Linked DNA regions of Homo sapiens: regions 1, 3, 4, 5, 6 and 7 are each linked to region 2. Evidence: promoter capture Hi-C in 16 types of primary human blood cells and fetal thymus (Javierre and others, 2016). All regions are on one chromosome and are shown on one strand. The core of a region is centred on a gene start or on the middle of the fragment in contact, and the rest is flanking DNA. Distances in the headings are between cores, read along the strand shown.

The links. The method cuts DNA at HindIII sites, captures the fragments that hold promoters and counts their contacts. A CHiCAGO score of 5 or more calls a contact.
Region 1: a contact is called between a fragment that was not itself captured here and the fragment with the promoter of UBE2E2 in region 2, in 7 of 17 cell types (fetal thymus, total B cells, naive B cells and 4 more). The highest score is 15.9, in fetal thymus.
Region 3: a contact is called between a fragment that was not itself captured here and the fragment with the promoter of UBE2E2 in region 2, in 3 of 17 cell types (fetal thymus, total B cells and activated CD4 T cells). The highest score is 7.3, in fetal thymus.
Region 4: the fragment with the promoter of NR1D2 here is called in contact with the fragment with the promoter of UBE2E2 in region 2 in 11 of 17 cell types (fetal thymus, naive CD4 T cells, activated CD4 T cells and 8 more); the score reaches 16.1 in fetal thymus.
Region 5: a fragment that was not itself captured here is called in contact with the fragment with the promoter of UBE2E2 in region 2 in 1 of 17 cell types (M0 macrophages); the score reaches 5.1 in M0 macrophages.
Region 6: a contact is called between a fragment that was not itself captured here and the fragment with the promoter of UBE2E2 in region 2, in 8 of 17 cell types (fetal thymus, naive B cells, total B cells and 5 more). The highest score is 14.2, in fetal thymus.
Region 7: a contact is called between a fragment that was not itself captured here and the fragment with the promoter of UBE2E2 in region 2, in 7 of 17 cell types (fetal thymus, monocytes, total B cells and 4 more). The highest score is 9.6, in fetal thymus.

Annotation. Positions count from the first base shown.
Region 1 is chr3:23,866,097-23,868,796 of GRCh38, reverse strand. The region is part of intron 3 of UBE2E1 (ubiquitin conjugating enzyme E2 E1); the gene reads right to left. Among named protein-coding and RNA genes, the nearest start is that of NKIRAS1, 50 kb to the left of the region's middle. The HindIII fragment of the contact is 926 bases long and covers 929-1,854 here.
Region 2 is chr3:23,201,988-23,204,687 of GRCh38, reverse strand. It overlaps UBE2E2 (ubiquitin conjugating enzyme E2 E2), which reads right to left and starts at 1,361. Exons shown (of 6, transcript NM_152653.4): 1 at 1,224-1,361. UBE2E2-DT (UBE2E2 divergent transcript) reads left to right here and starts at 1,695. Exons shown (of 2, transcript NR_136176.1): 1 at 1,695-1,824. RefSeq lists a silencer at 1,201-1,890 and enhancers at 2,241-2,300, 1,713-2,688. The HindIII fragment of the contact is 2,247 bases long and covers 1-2,059 here.
Region 3 is chr3:23,960,388-23,963,087 of GRCh38, reverse strand. NR1D2 (nuclear receptor subfamily 1 group D member 2) reads right to left here. Exons shown (of 8, transcript NM_005126.5): 5 at 483-1,111. Among named protein-coding and RNA genes, the nearest start is that of NR1D2, 16 kb to the right of the region's middle. The HindIII fragment of the contact is 1,713 bases long and covers 442-2,154 here.
Region 4 is chr3:23,943,980-23,946,679 of GRCh38, reverse strand. NR1D2 (nuclear receptor subfamily 1 group D member 2) reads right to left here and starts at 1,394. Exons shown (of 8, transcript NM_005126.5): 1 at 1,086-1,394. The coding sequence starts at 1,101. LOC124909354 (a long non-coding RNA gene) reads left to right here and starts at 1,500. Exons shown (of 2, transcript XR_007095845.1): 1 at 1,500-2,700. It also overlaps a transcript of NKIRAS1 not described here. RefSeq lists silencers at 303-844, 341-1,530. The HindIII fragment of the contact is 14,696 bases long and covers 1-2,700 here.
Region 5 is chr3:23,745,055-23,747,754 of GRCh38, reverse strand. No RefSeq gene overlaps it. Among named protein-coding and RNA genes, the nearest start is that of UBE2E1, 60 kb to the left of the region's middle. The HindIII fragment of the contact is 2,191 bases long and covers 346-2,536 here.
Region 6 is chr3:23,821,309-23,824,008 of GRCh38, reverse strand. The region is part of intron 3 of UBE2E1 (ubiquitin conjugating enzyme E2 E1); the gene reads right to left. Among named protein-coding and RNA genes, the nearest start is that of UBE2E1-AS1, 16 kb to the right of the region's middle. The HindIII fragment of the contact is 9,608 bases long and covers 1-2,700 here.
Region 7 is chr3:23,843,923-23,846,622 of GRCh38, reverse strand. The region is part of intron 3 of UBE2E1 (ubiquitin conjugating enzyme E2 E1); the gene reads right to left. Among named protein-coding and RNA genes, the nearest start is that of UBE2E1-AS1, 38 kb to the right of the region's middle. The HindIII fragment of the contact is 4,321 bases long and covers 1-2,700 here.

The DNA of each region.
Region 1 (2,700 bases), core at 142-2,641, 660 kb before region 2:
GTTATACTTGCAGGATGAGATGCAGGGGATTTTCTCCTTCAAACAGATTCCAATTATTGAGATTAAAAAAAAAAAACAACACTGTGTTTACTTCCCAATTTCTATTCTGAAGGACAAAATAAAGGTAGAAGAGATGGAATCTAATCTACCTATTAATGTAGAAAGTAAAGTAATAAGAGAAAGTAAAAGTGGCCAGGCATGGTGACTCATGGCTATAATCCCAGCACTTTGGGAGGCTGAGGCAGGCGGATCACAAGGTCAGGAGATCGAGACCAGCCTGGCCAATATGGTGAAACCCCATCTCTAATAAAAATTCAAAAATTAGCCGGGTGTGTTAGTGGGCGCCTGTAGTCCCAGCTACTCAGGAGGCTGAGGCAGGAGAATAGCTTGAACCCAGGAGGTGGGGGTTGCAGTGAGTGAGATCGTGTCACTGCACTCCAGCCTAAGCAACAGAGGGAGACTCCATCTAAAAATAAATAAATAAATAAAAATAAAAAATAAAAGTAACTATGGTCACCCTAGGGTAAGCAGCGTTTCTGAGTAGAAAGCCAATGCTTTAAGGACTTGGAAAGGTGGGGGGGATACTAAGTCTGGGCTATCAATAATTCTTACTCCAGGCATTCGAATGTATGTTTCATTTAAGCCCAGTTTTCACAGTTATTTTTACAACAAAGTTGCTTAGGAACTGAGGGGAGATCTTTTGACTTATTTTCCTGCTTCATTCCAAACATGTTTTCAATAGTGACCCACTGATATGCTACATCTTTGGGTAAAAAATATCTAGAACACTCATTCATAGGAAATATTTATGACTGCTGCCATTCCCATCTATAGCCCAATGAAAATCATCAGTGACTACAAGGGGTTTGGGTCTCCTGTGGCTCTGTGGTCACATTGAAGGACAGATTTTGGCCTTATGATAAAAGCTTCCACTGACATTTTATTGGAAAATTTGGAAATACTCAGACTAAATGGATACTATCTCACTGTTCTGCCTTCTCTGCTCCCTCCTCTCTATTCAATTCAGGTGCTCTTTCCTACCCTCTTCCTTCTCCTTTGCTCTCAGACATGGGACTGACATACTGAATCTCTAAGAGACTACAAAACCTGCACCAGTATAAATGAAAGGGCTCAAGTGTACTCCAACAGCAGGATGCAAATCTGATTTTGAAATGAGACAGGGGGACCGGAGAGCCCACACAGGAGAAACTTTTGCCAAAAGAGGGTGCTCTTTCTCCCTTCTTTAATGTAGAAATACCAACTGTTATCTAAGATAATTATTTGTCAATTTATCTAAACAGTCAAAACACATGGAAGATTTGAAATGGGTGAATTTAATTGTGTATAAATTACACCTCAACAAAGTTGATGATAATTTATCCAAATATAAGCAAAACCAAAGTTTGAACTCAATTCTCCAGAATTTATTACATACAGGTTTGTTCTGACCTACTATTTGTACATCTAAAGTATCACTCCAAGAACCAACATAAATCAAAGACAGAAAAGTACCCTAACACAATTGCAGAGAAATATATAATTTTCAAAGTTCCTTCACAAACTTTGACTTCTTTTGATCTTTGCCTAGAATCTTTGAATCAGGAAAGGTAACATTTATCCATTTTAAAGATGAGGAAAATAAAATACATAAAATATAAAAAAGACAAGAAGAAAGTAATACAAAATAAAGAAATACATTTAAAAACAAACAAAGAGAAAAAAAAAAAAGATGAGGAGAAGGATTCAGGATTAAGTGATTTGTTTGTACAAAGTCAGAAAGCCTGGAAGTCAGTTCTGGCTAATGGCAATCCAGGTTTTCTTAAGGTGATATATTTTTACTACACCCATGAAGCTTAAAATAAAGTTACCTGTCTTTGGACTCAACACAAAAGTTGTTTAATCACAATTACTGGTCTGCCTTTCCTACCTTATTATTTCATTTCTCTTTCACATTTGGATGGAAGCCAGGATTAAATAAGAACAAGAAAATCTTGTGATCTGCCAAAAGGTGTTATTTAAATTTCTTAATACCAAAAATTAAATCACTTTATTTGCAGAAATCAATTAGGTGAAAATAAAAGCATACCACACACAGTACTTAGTGTGGAGAGGAATTTCGATAATAATGTGACAACTCCAAAAATGCAGAGAATCCCCCACCTTAATGAAAACCAAAGACATTTTGGGGAAACAAGCATCAGTTCAATTACAGTCCAAACGTTATGCCCCTAAGCTGCAAAGAGAACAAGAAAGATGCACAATTCTTTTTTCCCCCTAGAGCTAAAAAAAAGCAGGTATAGAACATGAGACCTACTTTCTCCAGCTCAGAAGTTAGGTTGGTCCCACAGTCCAGGAATTCAGATCCACTTCACTCTATTCCATTCTAGTTCACAGTGGCACTGGGAGGTCCAGCAGTCATTAGAATGACCTGCACTGAAATGTGAGGTCAACCCCTGCCTGAGGATACAATATCACCCACTGCTCAATGCTCTGTGAAGCTGAGGCCTCTGCAACTTCTTTGTTCCCTCCCTCTCCACTGCAGGATCCACAACTCAGAACTACCAGGAAATAACAGGGTCAGGAGGTGAGGAGAGCTATTTACTGCACTTGGGGGAATCACTGGCTTCTTTCTTGGCCCCGGCTGGCCTGGAGAGACAAGAGGAAGGCTGTTTATATTTGCATAGGGCTGAGAGACTGAAT
Region 2 (2,700 bases), core at 112-2,611:
GCTGCAGGGGAAAGAGAATGGGGTATGGCATTATATGAAAACACTCTATTTCAGCGTCAGCCCACATACAGAATTCCAAAGAGCCAAGGAGCATCCAAATTGCCGTAGTAAAGGCAAATATTTAGATTCACAAAGTCCAGACTGAATTATCACATATCTAGAAACATACTTTTTAAAGAAATCAGGGATTAAAAACTAAGAAGAGCGTAAAATCCTTTAGAACCGCGAGATACTTTGAGGGTAAACCCTAGCACTTCCTTTCGTACTTTTAAATAAAAATATTTTAGTAGACTCTCAAGAATACACAATACAAAACGATGAATCTTGAAAACATGCAAATGGGTCTAACAGCCACCGAGCACAGGATGATGTCTTTCTAAAGCAGCCTTAATTTCCTTAAGGGAAGATGGATTGGACATTTCTGGTTGGTCGTGGGGGAAAAAAGCCACAAGAAGCCACGCTTTATCTTCATTAGAAATGGTAAAGGGCAAAAAGATCAAAACATTATGAGAGAGATCGGAGAAAAGAGGGGGAGAAGTGGGGTGGGCGGGAAGGGGGAGAGGACAGAGGGAATCCAGTTTCAAACCAGGCCAGTGGGGGCTGCAGAGAAGAGACCAGAGAAAAATGGGCTTCGGTTCCAAACTGTGACAAGCGCCAGGCATCACAAAAGACCAATACAACACACACCCCTCACCAGGACACACACAAATATACCCCACAAGGTCTTCTCCGGGCGGGCCACCGGGGTGCGGCGGCGAAGGAGCCAAACCCGGCACTCGCCAGGAGACACACCATGTGCAGCAATTATGCAATTAGGGAAAATAGCAAAAGATCAAGCCGGGCACTTTCCACCGTGACATTTATCCTGTACTTTTGAAAAGACTTAGTTCCAGGATGCGGCTAGGAGAAGGAAAGCGCTGGGAGGGTTGAGAAGGATGGGGAACTGAGAACGGAAGGGGGTAGAAGGAGGACAGGGAGAGAAGAGGCAGAAGGGGGGGATGGGAAGAAGGGGGAGGGGTAGAAAGGGCGAGAAACGGGGGCAGGAGGCTCGCGGGAGGGGGCGTAGGGAACCGGGCACGGGGAGCGAGGAAGGAGGGAACTAGGGCACGAGCGGTGTAAGCAGAGACCTGCGACGCGGAGGGGAGGTCGGGGGAGTGAGGAGGACGTCAGCGAGAGGGAGGACGCCCGAGGAGGGGAGGCACCGGCGCGGCCCGAGCGAATACCTGAGGGGGGGGTGTCCGTGCAGGTCGCAGGCTCGAGCCGAAGCCCTGGGAGAGAGCTGCCCAGGCGCGAGGGGGAGGGAGACTGGGGAGGCCCCAGGGACGGGATGTCCCCTGCGGACCGTCTAGTCACCGAAAGCCGGACCCACGCACCACGCACCCGACCACGCCTGTCCCCGCCGCGCTCGCGCCCGCCCGGACTCACCCTCAGCGCCGCCGCTGCCGCCGCCCCCGGCCGTTCCAGCTCCGGCTCCTGAGGCTGCTGCCCGCGGCTGTCGCTGTGGCTGCCCCTGAGTCCTGGAAAGTGAAGCCACCACCTCCGGGAGCCGCCGCCGCCCGGCCGTCCGCGCGCGCACCCGCGAGTGCGCGTGCCTGCGCGCCCGCCCGGGAGAGACCGCGAGAGCGCGAGCCCCACGTCGGCCATGCGGCGCCGCGCGCCTCCCTCCTCCCCCCGCCCCTCCTCCTCCGGCGCGCGGCCGCGAGGGGGCGGGGGCGGGAGCGCGCCCGGGCGGGCTGCCCCGCCGGTCGGGAGAGGGGGTGGGGAGGCGGCGAGGAAAAGTAAAGTGACAGCTGGGTCCCGCGCGCAGACTGGGCTCTGACGGGGGTGAGCGAGGGGCGTCCCACGGGGAAGGAACGACAAGGACGGGGAGAAGTGGGGGAAACCGAGGCTGACGGGGTGGCTTGAGGGGAGGGGACGCGAGGACCTTGCCGGGCACGCGCATTAAAGGGAAACGCCGGCTGGGGGTTAGGGGTTACCCCAAGACGGTGCAGGCAGTGGGACGAGGAGGCCTTTTACCCCCATCCACCGCAGCCCTTGACTTCACGCTCGCCTCGAAGCTTTCGCAAAGTAGATACGGGGACTGACCCTGTTGACACACTAACCCAAACTCGCAGACGCGTGGGGCTCGCATGTACCCAAGACAGGAAAACTTCACGTTGGCCTGGAAACTTCTTCCAGGCTAAGCCTGAGTCTTCACCAGACACTGCAGCACGAAGGCCCTTCTGCCTTTTGGCTCGCCCTGGCCCAGAATGCGCACCAGCCGGTAGAGAGGAGCTTCGGGCCGTTTAGCCCTGGGGTATTGAAGAGAGGGGTGGGGGTACAGGGTGCACCACTGTCAGAGTGAGTGGGAAGCTGCCTTCATGCCCAGTTGAAGGATATGGGAACAGTAGCAGTGCTGTAGGTGGCATGAGGGAACATTAGGTTCCGTTGTACTCCTCATCCCAAATAACCGTTTAAAAAAAAAAAAAAAACGTACCTGCTTTGCGAACTTAGCTTCCACGAAATTTCTCCCACTCCAACCTCCAGCCTCACTTACCAACGGAATGCTGGGTCGTTGGCAACGGGGTGTCCAGGGATGCAGCAAAATTAACTTCTATCTTTGTGGAGGAAAGGATTGGAAGATCTTTCACTGCTTAATTGCTGAAATTATGGTTGCTACAGTACTTCATTTGACTGTAGATGTTTTAACTGCTATTTACT
Region 3 (2,700 bases), core at 49-2,548, 760 kb before region 2:
ATCAAACAATAAAACATCTATGTTCTATATCCAAAGACCTTCTTGCATAATAATGGTTAAAAAAAAAAAAAACCTCTTTCTATAGAAATCAAAGAATTTCTAACTATGGCAAGCGAAAAGTTCGGCCCTTTGAGAAAATCCCAAAGCTAGTAAGGTACTAATTAACCAGAATGCTTAAATTTTCAAAGGGATTTCCAAGAATTAAAGGACCAATTCTGCATGAATCATATTTTACATAAAATCCTAATCCCAATCTCAGATCAATCAAATCACATGCTTGTACCTAGCTGGGTGTGAAATTAGGTCATTCATCAGAAGATGTTTATTAAAATTATTTGACCTAAAATACTGTACAAAATTAAGTCTGTAAATTTCTTAGGTTTCCTGACACCATCCCCCCAAGTTAGCATATCTCCCGAATAAAAGAAAATTTTCAAAGCTTTCCCTGATACAATGTAAGCAAAAAATCGATTTCACTATACCAGATGCATTCTTCCTCCAGTGTTGCACAGGTAACTATTCTTGTTCTCATTCTGAGAAAATCCATCTATCGGAACTCTATCACATACTCTTTGAGTATAAGCATTGGAGAAGTTCATACAATGTCCATTTGCAATACAAATGGCATGACCATTTGGGTAATGCATTATATTCCTCCCTTTGAACTGTCCATTGAGATGCTGCTGGCTCTCACTACAGGGAAAATGGCTGCTAAGCCCATTGCCGCAATGATCATGATTTAAATTATATTGCTCCATGTTCTTGGGAATCCGTTCTCCTCTCTGGGGCTGCATGCTCTCAGCTGAGTTTTCTTGCTGCTCTTGATTATACATAAAGGTATCCTTGTGAGCTCTGGTCACCATGCCAATCACTTCTTCCTTTGCAAAATCAGAAGATGGAGGAGAAGAGCTTTTGATGTTTTCTTGCTCCAGTTGGGGCTTGGGTCGCAGCTGTTCCTGGGCTGGCAAGGCTGTCTGTTCATGATGTTCTACTAATGTGTCATTTTGCAAGTGACCACTGAACTGGCTGTTCATCATGGTCTTCATTGCACTTTGCATTTCAATTAGCATCCTCTGTTTTTCACGCTTAGGAATACGACCAAACCGAACAGCTATTGAAGAAAAAGATATTTAACGTCTATATTCTAAATAAGACCTGTTTTGTATAAAAGAATAACACAAAATTATCCAACAGTTATGGCCTCTAGTCATACATATAAAGAATGAGTCTACATGTCTCTGGTCCACATTTTTCTAAACTTGCTGGTCTTGATGCACCAAAGGAAGTAGGAGAGGGAGAGAAAATTTTCTATTTTCCCCCCACAACAAAGTTAAGGACATCTACCTCCTAGGTATTTTATAAGCAAAGTCTAAGAAAAGAAATAGGAAATTCGGATGGGTGCAGTAGCTCATGCTTCTAATCACAGCACTTTGGGAGGCTGAGGCAGGTGGACCACCTGAGGTCAGGAATTCGAAACCAGACTAGCCAATATGGTGAAACCCCGTCTCTACTAAAAAAACAAAAACTAGCCAGGTGTGATGGCGGGCGCCTGTAGTCCCAGCTATTCTGGAGACTGAGGCAGGAGAATCGCTTGAACCCAGGAGGCAGAGGTTGCAGTGCGTCGAGATGGTGCCAATGCACTCCAGCCTAGGTGACAGAGCAATACTCCATCTTAAAAAAAAAAAAAAAAAAAAAAAAGAAAGAAAAAGAAAAAAGAAATATGAAATTAGCTAATGAAAACCAGTTTGAAGCAGACCAGTATTACTACACAGCTCCTTACTAACAAAGCTGAGGACTGTTCCCAGCAAGGCATGTGTGATTCAGCTACACACATCCATTACCATTAATGGAATCTGGTAGGTGAAATCATTCCCTGAACACCTGGCCCTTGTCAATTCATTTTTGTAACTTTGCTCTCAAGATCTAACTATGAAATTATCTGCTGTCTTCTTTTCCAGCCTCTTTAAAAAAAAAATCCTTAAAAAAAATTCCACAATCAGTAGAAATGCACTTACTGAAAAATAAACTTGGTAGATTTTAATTAAAACCAGTGAAATAAGTAAAAATGAGATAAGTCATCCTCTATTCTTTTAGAAGCTAGTCTTAGAAGGTGTCTTGTCTCCAATAATCCTATCCATGAGAGAAAGAAAAGCTTCTTTCACAGTCTAGTATTTACACAGAGATAATAAAAATTCAGTATACTTGCCCAGAAAGCCTCGTTAATCTAATTGTAGCCTCTAACATTATTGCTACCAAAAACAAACAACTTAATCATGTTTGATACTTTATCTCTACTCCTCCCTTCACAAATGATTGTCAGTTTTATTCTTTCAGGGCAATCACAATATCCATCAACTATTTTTATAGCATTAGTACTTTTAGCACTATAAAAAAAATTTCAGGGAATTGAAAAAACAAAACATCAATTGCTGAAATCTGTTACTCAAAAAACTCCTGGCCACGCCTGATGGCTCACACCTGTAATCCCAGCGCTTTGGGAGGCCGAGGCAGGTGGATCACTTGAGGTCAGGAGTTCGAGACCAGCCTGGTCAACATGGTGAAACCCCCATCTCTACTAAAAATACAAAAATTAGCCAGGTGTGGTGGCGGGCACCTGTAATCCCAGCTACTCAGGAAGCTGAGGCAGGAGAATCACTTGAACCTGGGAGATAGAGGCTACATTGAGACAGAGTGTCACCG
Region 4 (2,700 bases), core at 145-2,644, 740 kb before region 2:
TATGGTGTTGGAGTCACCTATGATCACCTGAGTCATCCTGACCATACGTGAGCTGCACGCTCAGCTGCGGGTGTGACCCGTTTACTGGAAAACTCCAGCCCGAAGGGATCTGGAAGCAGTTTTTAAGACTGTGTGTGTATGAGACAGGTCGCGTCCTAGAGCAAACGGTTTTTTTTGTAAACAGACGGCATCCTAACAGGGGCGGTGCTACCCAGTCTGCGGGGAGTCGCTCGGGATCGAAGCACCTCAGAGCTCCTTCGAGCGTATCCCTTCGGGAAAGCCCCACGCCTTCCCCGAGGCGCCTCCTCCGGCCTGCAGCACGCCCTCGTCCTGCACTTCCTCCTCGGAATCTGCAAGGTATGCAGCTACCAGCCTCCCCAGGCGCCGGTTCGTTTGGTTTGCGCGGGGTCCGCGCCTTGGGGTCACCTCGCGAAAAGAGCGTGCGGCGTCCGGTGCACTGCGGTGTCAGCGCCCGCTTCGGGGACGCCCCGCCGCGGGGGCTCAGCGGGCGCGCACGCGCGGCCTCCTCCGCAGTGTGCAACCCCGCGGGGGAGGAGGGAATCGCGGCGACGTCACTGCCCCGAGGCTTCCAAAGGGGCGGAGCCTCCCGGGAGGCTGCGGCGCTCCCAGCCAGCGCGCGCGCGCGCGCCCCCGCCCCCACGTGTCCCTGCGGCCCCGGGGAATGTGGGTCAGGGAGCCGAGCGGCCTCACGTGTCCCCGCCCGCCGCCGCCGCCTCAGCGCCCATTATGTAATGCCGCGTCACGCGCCCGCCCAGCCAACCGGCGCCCGCGCGCCGCCGAACGTAAACACAGCGCGCACGTGGCTCGCGCGGCCGGGCCATGTGAGGGGGGGGCCGGGCCGGGCGCCGGCAGGCCGCGCTGCGGCTTTGCAGGGAGACAAGAGGGCGGGCGCCGGGCGGCCCGGGGGGCGATGGGAACCGAGCCAGAGGCGGACACGCGGCGCGCAGCAGCCCACCCCGCCCCACCGGCCATGGGGACACCCCCTGCCGCCGCCCCCCAAAGTGCCCCGCGGGCTCTGAGCGCTCCCTCCGGCCATCCCCCACCCGCCGCAGTCCGGTTCTTACCTGCATTCACCTCCATGGTGCCCTCGCGGAGGCGGCCGGGGCCGCCCGCTTCCCGCAGAGGGGGCAGCGCCGCCGCCGCCGCCTCAGCGCCGCGCCGCCCCGGGCTGGAAGCAGCGGTGGTCGCGGGGCCCCCTCATGGGCAGAGCGGGCGGGGCTCCCGGGCCCCAGGCCGTGCAGCGCACAGCAGGCTGCAGCGAGAGAGGGTGGCGGCGGCCGGCGAGCGGCGCTCCTCGCTGGGTCCCTGACAACAAAAGCGGCGGCGCGGCGGCTTCCTGCAGCCAGCGCACCGCGGCGGCGAGGGCGGCTGACGGGGAGGGCAGCCGCGACCATGTGACCCGCGCACACACCCCCTCCCTCCGCCCGCCCTCGGCCGGCCGCTGCGGCGACCTCCGCCCCGCCGCTCCCCTCCCTCCCGCCCGCTTCCCGGCTCCCCGGCTACCCTTTTCTCCTGCGCTTCCCCCTTCTCCCCTTCCTTCTCCTTGCCGAGCCCCTCCTCTTCCTTCGTTTTTCCCCTCCGTGCCGTAAACCTCTTCTCCGTTTCCCTCCGCCGCATATTCCTCCCCTCCTCCTCCTCTTTCCTCTCCTCCCGGCTGCCTTTCCCGCCTCTGGCCGGGAGTCCTCTCCACGCCCTGCCCCCCAACCTGGTGGCTCTTAGGTCAAAGCGGTGGCTTGGCGCCGAGCAAGGGTGATTCTCAGGACCCCGGCTGGGCCGGCTGGTTCGGGCTTGCTCAACCCTTGCGCCCCCCACCCCCACCCCCCGCTCCCACCCGACCGACCTCCAAACGCTGGTCTCTGAGGGCACAGACCCTTCCCTTTCCCTCTGCACCCTCTAGGTGATTTTATCCAATCTCATAGCTTAAGTAGACCTATGTTCTTGTGATTCCCAGATTTATATTTCAAGCCAAGACCTCTCTTCTAATCTCCAGATTCCTACATCCAGCAGCCCGTTTGATTATGCCGCTTTTTTGCATCTCAGATTTTAGACGGGTGTACGCGTGTGTCCGAACTCAGCTAATGTGCAGTCAAGATCTGGGCGTTTCACCTTGAATGTAAATTTTAGATCAAAAGAAAAAAGCTAGACATAAATTGTATGCGTGCTGAGGTGAATTCTGAGGAAAGTGCATTGATGCCCGCAATTTAAACGCATTACTGAAGTAAGATGGGCTGATAGAGGCATGAATAGATGATATGGTAAGATGTTAAACTTAGGCGATGGGGATATGGGTGTTGCTTGTAAAACTCTTTCCAGTTTGCTCTGAAATTCTTCACTATAGAAGGTGGGGAAAATGTCACGTGGAAGACATATTTACATGTGCAACACCCTATTTCCCCACCCCCCAGGTTTCTTCACCATATCAATATTTACTGTTTTGGTAAATCTGCAAGTTCCTGAAGCCAGCAAAATTATGTTTCTCTCCTAACACTCTCACAGCCTTTTATTCTCCATTCAATCCATTAGCAAGTCTGAGCTATTCTACCTTCAAAATATGTTCAATCCCTGTTTCTCACCGTTGGTATTGCTAGAGCAAACCATTATCTCTTGCCTCAGCTACTGCTCTGGTTCCCTAACTAGGAGAGTGCTTCTTGGGTCCTCCTACAGTCACTTCTCCCCAGC
Region 5 (2,700 bases), core at 192-2,691, 540 kb before region 2:
TTTATAGTTCTGCACTTTCTAACTTACTCAAGTATAGGGGCCCTTCAACTTATGTCACCTGAAGAAATCTGCATTTAATGTTCTTTCTCTTACTGAGTTTTGTTTTTAAAGAAAATACTTATTGGAAAAGCAGTTACATTTTGTTCATTCTTCAGTGTCTATAATGAAAAAGACAAGGTTGGCCAGGTGTGGTGATGCATGCCTGCAGTCCCAGCAACTCGGGAGGCTGAAGTGAGAGGTTCACTTGAGCTCAGGAGTTCAAGGCTGCAGTGAGCCATGATTGCATCACTGCAATCCAGCCTAGGTGACAGAGCAAGACCCCGTCTCAAAAGACAAGGTCAAGCTTTCAAATGGACATAATATAAGAATTCTCATTGTTATATATAAAGCATTACATATGGGGCCATGTGCGGTGGCTCAAGCCTGTCATCCCAGCACCTTGGGGGGCTGAGGCGGGCGGATCACTTGAGGTCAGGAGTTCGAGACCAGCCTGGCCAACATGGTGAAACCCCGTCTCCACTAAAAAATACAAAAATTAGCCAGGCGTGGTGGCGAGCGCCTGTAATCGCAGCTAGTTGGAAGGCTGAGGCAGGAGAATCGCTTGAACCTGGGAGGTGGAGGTTGCAGTGAGCCAAGATTGAGCCTTTGCACTCCAGGCTGGGTGACAGAGTGAGACCCCCTCTCAAAAAAAAAGAGCCAAAAAATTACATATATAAAACATATATATATATACACATGTATATATACAACAAATATATAAATACATAAAATAGCTATAAACAAAGAGAATTAGCCCAGCTTTGAGAAATCTTTTCCTCCTGGAATTTAGTTAGAGGCCACAGCTCAATTATTTGATGGCAGCCTTGGAAAAACTGGCAGTTTATATCTACTTTCAGGCCCCTGACATTGCAATGTAAAACCGATGGTGTGACGGTCACTTTATAAATGCTCAACAATGCTGCTGGGAGGGAGGGAAGGAAGGAAGAAAGGCAGGAAGGAAGGGGAGGGGGAGAAGGGAGGGCCGGAGATGGGGGAAGCAGGGTAATGTTTTCTGGAGGAATCTAACTAATTTGCATTTCTAATGGCTAATGAAACCTGGAGAAGTAAAACCTAAACAGATTTGGTTAAAAGTCTAGGCAACTTTGAGTCACCAAGGGCTGGATTCCCAGCCCCTGTGTGCTCTTGTCCCTCTCCTCCTTCCCTAATTTCTTCCTTCCTGTGGGGCACATCATTGCTCATTAGCACCTTCACCAGACGGTAGACTGTGAGAAGCGAAGCTCAGTGATTTATTTCTTGGTGTTTCGCAGCTCTCGAATCTCCCAGTGAGGGAGAAGGCTGAAATTAATGGCTAGAATTAGTTATTTGGATTATCACAGGTTTCCACATAGACTTTTTATTATCATTATTATTATTATTAGCTGGGTGGGCTATTGAGCGTTGGAGTCTTATGAATAAAGTTCCCCTATTTTAAATGACTTGAGGGAAGCGAGGCTTGGTTAAGATAAGAAAAGGCTGGTGCTGGGCAGGTGGCTCACGCCTGTAATGCCAACACTTTGGGAGCCCGAGGCAGGAGGAGGATCTTTTGAGTTCAGGAATTTGAGACCAGCCTGGGCAACAAGGTGGGACTCTGTCTGTCCAAAAAAAATTTTTTTTTAAATAGCCGGCATGGTGGCGCGCACCTGTGATCCCAGCTACTCAGGAAGCTGGGGTGGGAGGATCACGTGAGCCCTGGTCGAGGCTGCAGTGAGCTGTGATCATGCCACTGCACTCCAGTTTGGGGGACAGAGTAAGATCCTGTCTCAAAAAAAAAAAAAAAAAAAAAGAAAATGGGAAAAGGCTAGTGTCAGAGTGGAAATGAACAAGAATCAATGCTGGGAACTTCCAATTTCCAATCACCTCCACTACCGGAAGATGGGTCAATTTGACAACAATTTATGTCAGAGTTGCACCAGATCCATACCACATTTTTTTTCATGTCTTGACCTGAGTCTTTGAACAACCGAGGGGTATCATGGACAGAGGTGGGAGGCTAGCAGCTGTATAGCCAATGGAGAATGACCTAGGCAAAATCTGAAAGTTAAGACCTTTGGGTTTTAAAGCATTCTTTCCTCTTCAAAGAAAAGCAGTCTACCCAAACATATCAGTTGAGTACTGGATTTTAGTTAAACTATATTATTAACTGTGGGATTCAGTTTCCTCTTTTTTTTTTTTTTTTTGGAGATGGAGTCTCATTCTGCTGCCCAGGCTGGAGTGCAGTGGTGCGATCTCAGCTCACTGTAACCTCTGCCTCCCGGGTTCAATCAATTCTCCTGCCTCAGCCTCTCCAGTAGCTGGGACTACAGGCACACGCCGCCATGTCCAGCTAATTATTTTTTTTTTAAATTTTAGTAGAGATGGGGTTTCACCCTGTTGCCCAGGCTGGTCTCGAACTCCTGAGCTCAGGCAATCCACCTGCCTCGGCCTCCCAAAGTGCTAGGATTACAGGCGTGAGCCACCGGGCCCCGCTCAGTTTCCCATTCTTGTAAAAAGATAAGCTTACTCTGTGTAACTCTGATACTTTGTTAAGGTATGGGTGTGGGTGCATGATTTTTATTACTTTTGTAGAATAAAGAGGAATAATGTGGTTAAAGATGGGGCAAACTAAACCTTTCTTCTCTCATCCCCCCAATTTGTTGCCACTAGAAACTTGAAGAAAATAAA
Region 6 (2,700 bases), core at 127-2,626, 620 kb before region 2:
GACTGGTCCAAATCACTTGACAGTGTTTACTTTGGATGTGAGAACATCTCAGAATACCAAGCTACAAAAAATAAATGTCTTTTCGGGGGCTACCAGTCTCCCTGAAGGATGAAGTTAGGCATTCTGAAGACTTCCAGAGAGAGGGTTACTCAGAAAAAGGCCAAAGCAGTGTGATATACTAGCAAGTAGTATATGACGCTGCTAACTTTACTGCCAGTCTCTGCACACACATTACTATAATCACTTAACATACGTTGGTTCTGAAATATTTACTTAGGTTAGAGGAAAGTTATCTTTCATGTTTATAAAAAATCCTCCTGGGTGCTTGTAATAAAACAAATGTTTTCTTTTAGGGTCTTTTTCTCTGCAAAGTCAACAATCTCCTTTTATTTAGGATAAATGTGTTGTAGCAAAGTCTGCTAAGAAATAAATTTTTATAACACCAATTCTAATATATTAACTTAAAAATTGAGATGTACCCCCATAGAGGAGGAAAGGTTGTAAGTGGTAGTAGGAACAATTTAAATTACTTGTGGAGCAAAATTCCTACGTAGCCAAAACAGTTGTGGTTCCACATATTATTTGTTGCTTGTCTCTGGCAGTTCAGCACCTAATGCTTTTGTGATTCCAACTAATTACTCTCTGAATTAGAAGAATGATTCCTAATCCTAAAACTTTCTTAATTCTACCCTCAATTATCAAGGTAAGCAGGACCAAGAGTATCTGGCATAATCTGAAACAAATTATTAAGACATGATCAGTGGACAATTAAAAAGACAATGCTTATATGATTGCTTTAAGAGTTCTAAGTATATCCAATGTAAAGCATTAACATAACAGCCCATATTAAAAGGATGAAAAACAGGATGGGCGCAGAGGCTCATGCCTGTAATCCCAGCACTTTGGGAGGCCAAGGCAGGTGGATCACAAGGTCAGGAGTTTTCGACTAGCCTGGCCAACATGGTGAAACCCCATCTCCACTAAAAATACAAAAATTAGCTGGGCGTGGTGGCACATGCCTGTAACCCCAGCTACTCAGGAGACTGAGACAGGAGAATCGCTAGAACCCGGGAGGCACAGGTAACAGTGAGCCAAGAAGGCACCACTGCACTCCAGCCTGGGCGACAGAGCAAGGCTCCGTCTCTGGAAGGGCGGTGGCGGGGGTTGGGGGTGGGGGGATGGGGGAGGGGATGAAAAACATTAAATATGATGAGTAACTTATGCTGTGTTAAAAGTAAATACATATATCCAACTCATTCTAGTGCATTCTCCAGCTTGAACAGAATACAAAAGGTCGATGCAAATCAAAGCATGTAAAATATTTTTAAGGATGGCAGCAGCAATTTACTGATTTTCCAATTTATCCAGTAATTTCAAACCAAGTCTTGAAAAAGAGATTCATCAAGATGTAATACATGAACCTGACACTATTTACTTGTAACATGCATGGTACAACGTTAACCTAAAGATCACAAAGGACTTGAATCTCGTAAAGTAGAAGTTAACTTTTTTTGGTGAGGAAAGAGGGGAGATCAGAAAAAAAAAACTCCTTTGAGAATCCACTGAAAATGGTGGGCCCTTTCCCCATCCTCCCCACAAAATTATATATACTATGTTAAGAAATTCTGCCCTAAAGTGTAGAAAGTAGATAACACCAGATCACTTTTCTGGATAAATACAATGAAATATTTTAACTAGGAAGAGTAATACAAACACATTTTCATTCTTGAAAATCATTCCTCCTTTTCCATTGTCTCTCCTCTAAACCAGGTTTGACACGTGAAGGTCACCAACAAACCTGAGGTAAAATCTAGTGGTTACTTGCTGGTCTTCATCTTTTTCTACTGCACAGCACCATTTCCCACTTGATCACTCTACCTCAAAACTTTCCACTCACTGCTTTCTAATACCACACTCTCTTGATTTTCCTTCTGTCTCCTTTGCTGGCTTTTCCTAGTGTACACTTCTAAATGCCAGATGCCTGAGTCTTCATCCTGGGCACTCTTCTCATGATGCCTTTCCTTTCTAGGAGAGAGAAAGGCATTCCCAAGACACCCAAGAGCCTCTGTTTGGTAAGGTCTCCTTTACAAATGTGTATGTATCTCAGAGCTCCAATTACCTATGTCTAACTTATTTTTGACACCTTCATTTGGATGCCTCATGGGAACAGATTTCAAATCTATCAAGTCCAAAAAGGAGTCATTTCCACCCTGCCCTCATCTCCCCTGCCACCCACCACACACGCGCCCTACGGCCCTATTCTAGGCCTAGGAGTCTACCTATCAGTAAAACATCACTATCATCTAGCCAATTGCAAAAAAACACAGAAACTTGGAGTCATTTTTGTTCCTGTCCCTCATCTCTCACATGCAATCCAACAACAGGTCCCAGTGTTCTACCATATCTCCACTGCCACTACCTTAATCCTAGCCACCTGCACCAGCTAGCTTGAAACAGAGCAATACCCTCCTTTCTGGTCTCCCTTCTTCCACTAGCATCTTCCTCCCAGCTATTTTCCATGCAGCAGGGAGGGTGGGAAAAGACTTTTAAAGCATTATTGAGAAAAATCCAAACTCTCTACTTAGCACGGTTTACATAATCAGCATCACCTGACTTGTCCCCGCCTCAGGGCCTGTTTTTACCTTCCCTCTGTCCCAGATGTCTTCTGGTACTTTTCACAAGGCCATTTCCTTTCCTATC
Region 7 (2,700 bases), core at 140-2,639, 640 kb before region 2:
CTGGGTTCAAGTGATTGCCGGGCCTCAGCCTCCCGAGTAGCTGGGACCACAGGCATGTGCCACCATACCCGGATAAATTTTGTATTTTTAGTAAAGATGGGGTTTCACCATGTTGGCCAGCTGGTTTCAAACTCCTGACCTCAGGTGATCTGCCCACCTCGGCCTCCCAAAGTGCTGGGATTACAGGTGCAAGCCACTGCACCTGGCCCCATTCTCTTTTTTAAGAGACTGTGGCCTTGCCATGTTGCCCAGGCTGAACTCAAACTCCTAGCCTCAAGCAATCCTCCTACCTCAAGCCTCCCAAGTAGCTAGGACTACAGGAATGGGCCACTGCACCCAGCTCTATTACCCACTCTTGAATAGGCTTAAAAGGAATTTAAAAAACCAAATGTTTCAACATTACATTTACCTTAAACTAGATTTATGTAAGACATTTATTTAATTATCCCTTCCTGACCATTAAGAACTACTTTCTCTTACAGGTACTGAAAATTCATGTTACTGATGTAAGAACTTTTCCCAAATAATACAGAGAATGACAGTTAACTATCAGATAAGCTAGGGCACTGGTTTGAAAACCTTAGTTGCCTAAGGAGCAAGAGTTGGCAAACTATGACTCACATGGGCCAAATCAGGCCCTCAACCTGTTTCTGTTTGGTCTACTAGTTAAGAAAGGTTTTCACATTTTTAAGTGATTAAAAAAATCTAAAGAAAACTAGTATTTTATGACACGTGAAAACTATTAATAAATTTTATATTGAATTATTAAATTGAAATCGGTGTCCGTAATAAAGCTGTATTGGAACACAACCACATTTTTTCATTTATGAATTGTATATGGCTGCTTTTGTACTATGGGTAGAGTTGAACGGTTCTAACAGAGATCAAATGGCCTATGACGCCTAGAATATTTACTACTTGGACTTCTGCTAAATAACTTTGCCAAACTCCACCCTAGAGAGGTTTTGTTTAAAAAGAAAAATTATATATATACATACACACACATACACACACACACACACACACACACACAGAGAGAGAGAGAGAGAGAGAGAGAGAGAAACCAAAACAGTGGGGAGATGGACAAAAGAGGAATTTCCATTTTTAACAACTGCCTCAAGTAATTCTGATACAGACAATATATTCAGAAAACACTGATCTACACTCTACTCCTACATATGCTTAGAAAAAGGGAATTGTCATGTGGCTTACAATTTCATTGCTAAATAAAATGGGGGCAACTTGGTAAACAGAGGCTTTCTTCCTTCTATCAAGAGAGTATATATGTGCATAGCCAATTCAGCCTCCCCACTCCTGAAGAGTGTGCAATGCATTCTGCCAGACACACAGATCTTGAGGTAAAAAGAAGAAAATATCCTGTCCATTAAGAAGAAAATTTTAATTTCACATAAAATTTGCTTTAGTTTATTGTCAAGATTTGTGATTTTGAAGCTACACTTAGGAAATCCTTCCTGGCCTGTGGGTCGCATTTTCTTTCTTCATTGTATAGTTTTAAAATTTCACATGTGAGCTTTTAATCTACCTAGTCTACCTTCATATATGGTATTAAGTAGGAATCCGGTTTTATTTACCTCCTTGTGGTGAGTCAATTTCCCTATACCATCTATGAACAATCCCATCTTGTCCTCAGTGTTTGGTGCTGCCATAAATTATATATTATATATTAAAATCCTACATATACACATGTCCATCTCTGGGTGCTCCAAGTCAGCTTCATTGGTCTGTTTACCTTACCACAGGGCTACGGTAATAAATACAGTGTAGTATTATTGGAGCACGTCTTCATATCTGGGAGAGCAACAACCCATCTCCCACGCATAACACCTAAGACTGACCTACATGTTCATGAACATATTCTCCATATGTAAGTGTAGAGTATGATTGGCAAAAATTAGAAAATCAGAACGCACCTAAGAGGACACAGGAATTCTCATGCTCTGCTACTGGTGGGCATGGAGATGAGTACAGCCATTCTGGGGAACAATCTGGTACAACTTAAGTCAAATCAAATTTAAGTAAGCCCTATGATCCCCTTGCAGTTCTGCTTAATTCTTACAGAGGTCCAAAAAAGATTACGGACCAGAATGTTCACTGTTAGTGGGGATGGAGAGCTGGAAACGATCTGGTCTTCTATAAGATAAAATGAGTATACCCCTTGGAATACTATGTGGCTGTTCAACGCAATGAATTAGATGCTTGCATAGCAACAGGGAGAGAGCTTAAAACATTGTGCTTAGAAAAATGTAAGAAAGAATTAGGCATCATTTATGTAAGTTAAAAATACAAACACTAAATACATTTTACAAGAACACAAACAATATAGTGAAAGGCATTAGAATGGGTGCTTTTGGGGCAGAAGTAGAAAATGAGGATAAAATAGAATAAAATAAACAAGCAGGAAAGAGGAGAAAAAGGAATCAACCTTTACTGGGGGAAGGGGAGGGCTCACAAACACTAGGCTAGCTAGCTGTAGCCTGCGCCTTAGAGACTACTCACAAACCCCACCCACATGGCTCTCCCACAAATTATTTTTACATACTCCCATTTTACATATGAGTTGCCTTCATTAAAGGAGCCCTAAGAGCATAAAAAATTACACATGGTGGAAGAAATATCAAGAAGATATCGTTAAGTCAGTACAACTGCAGGATAAAGATGGCAATATCTGTAACTCGGGCA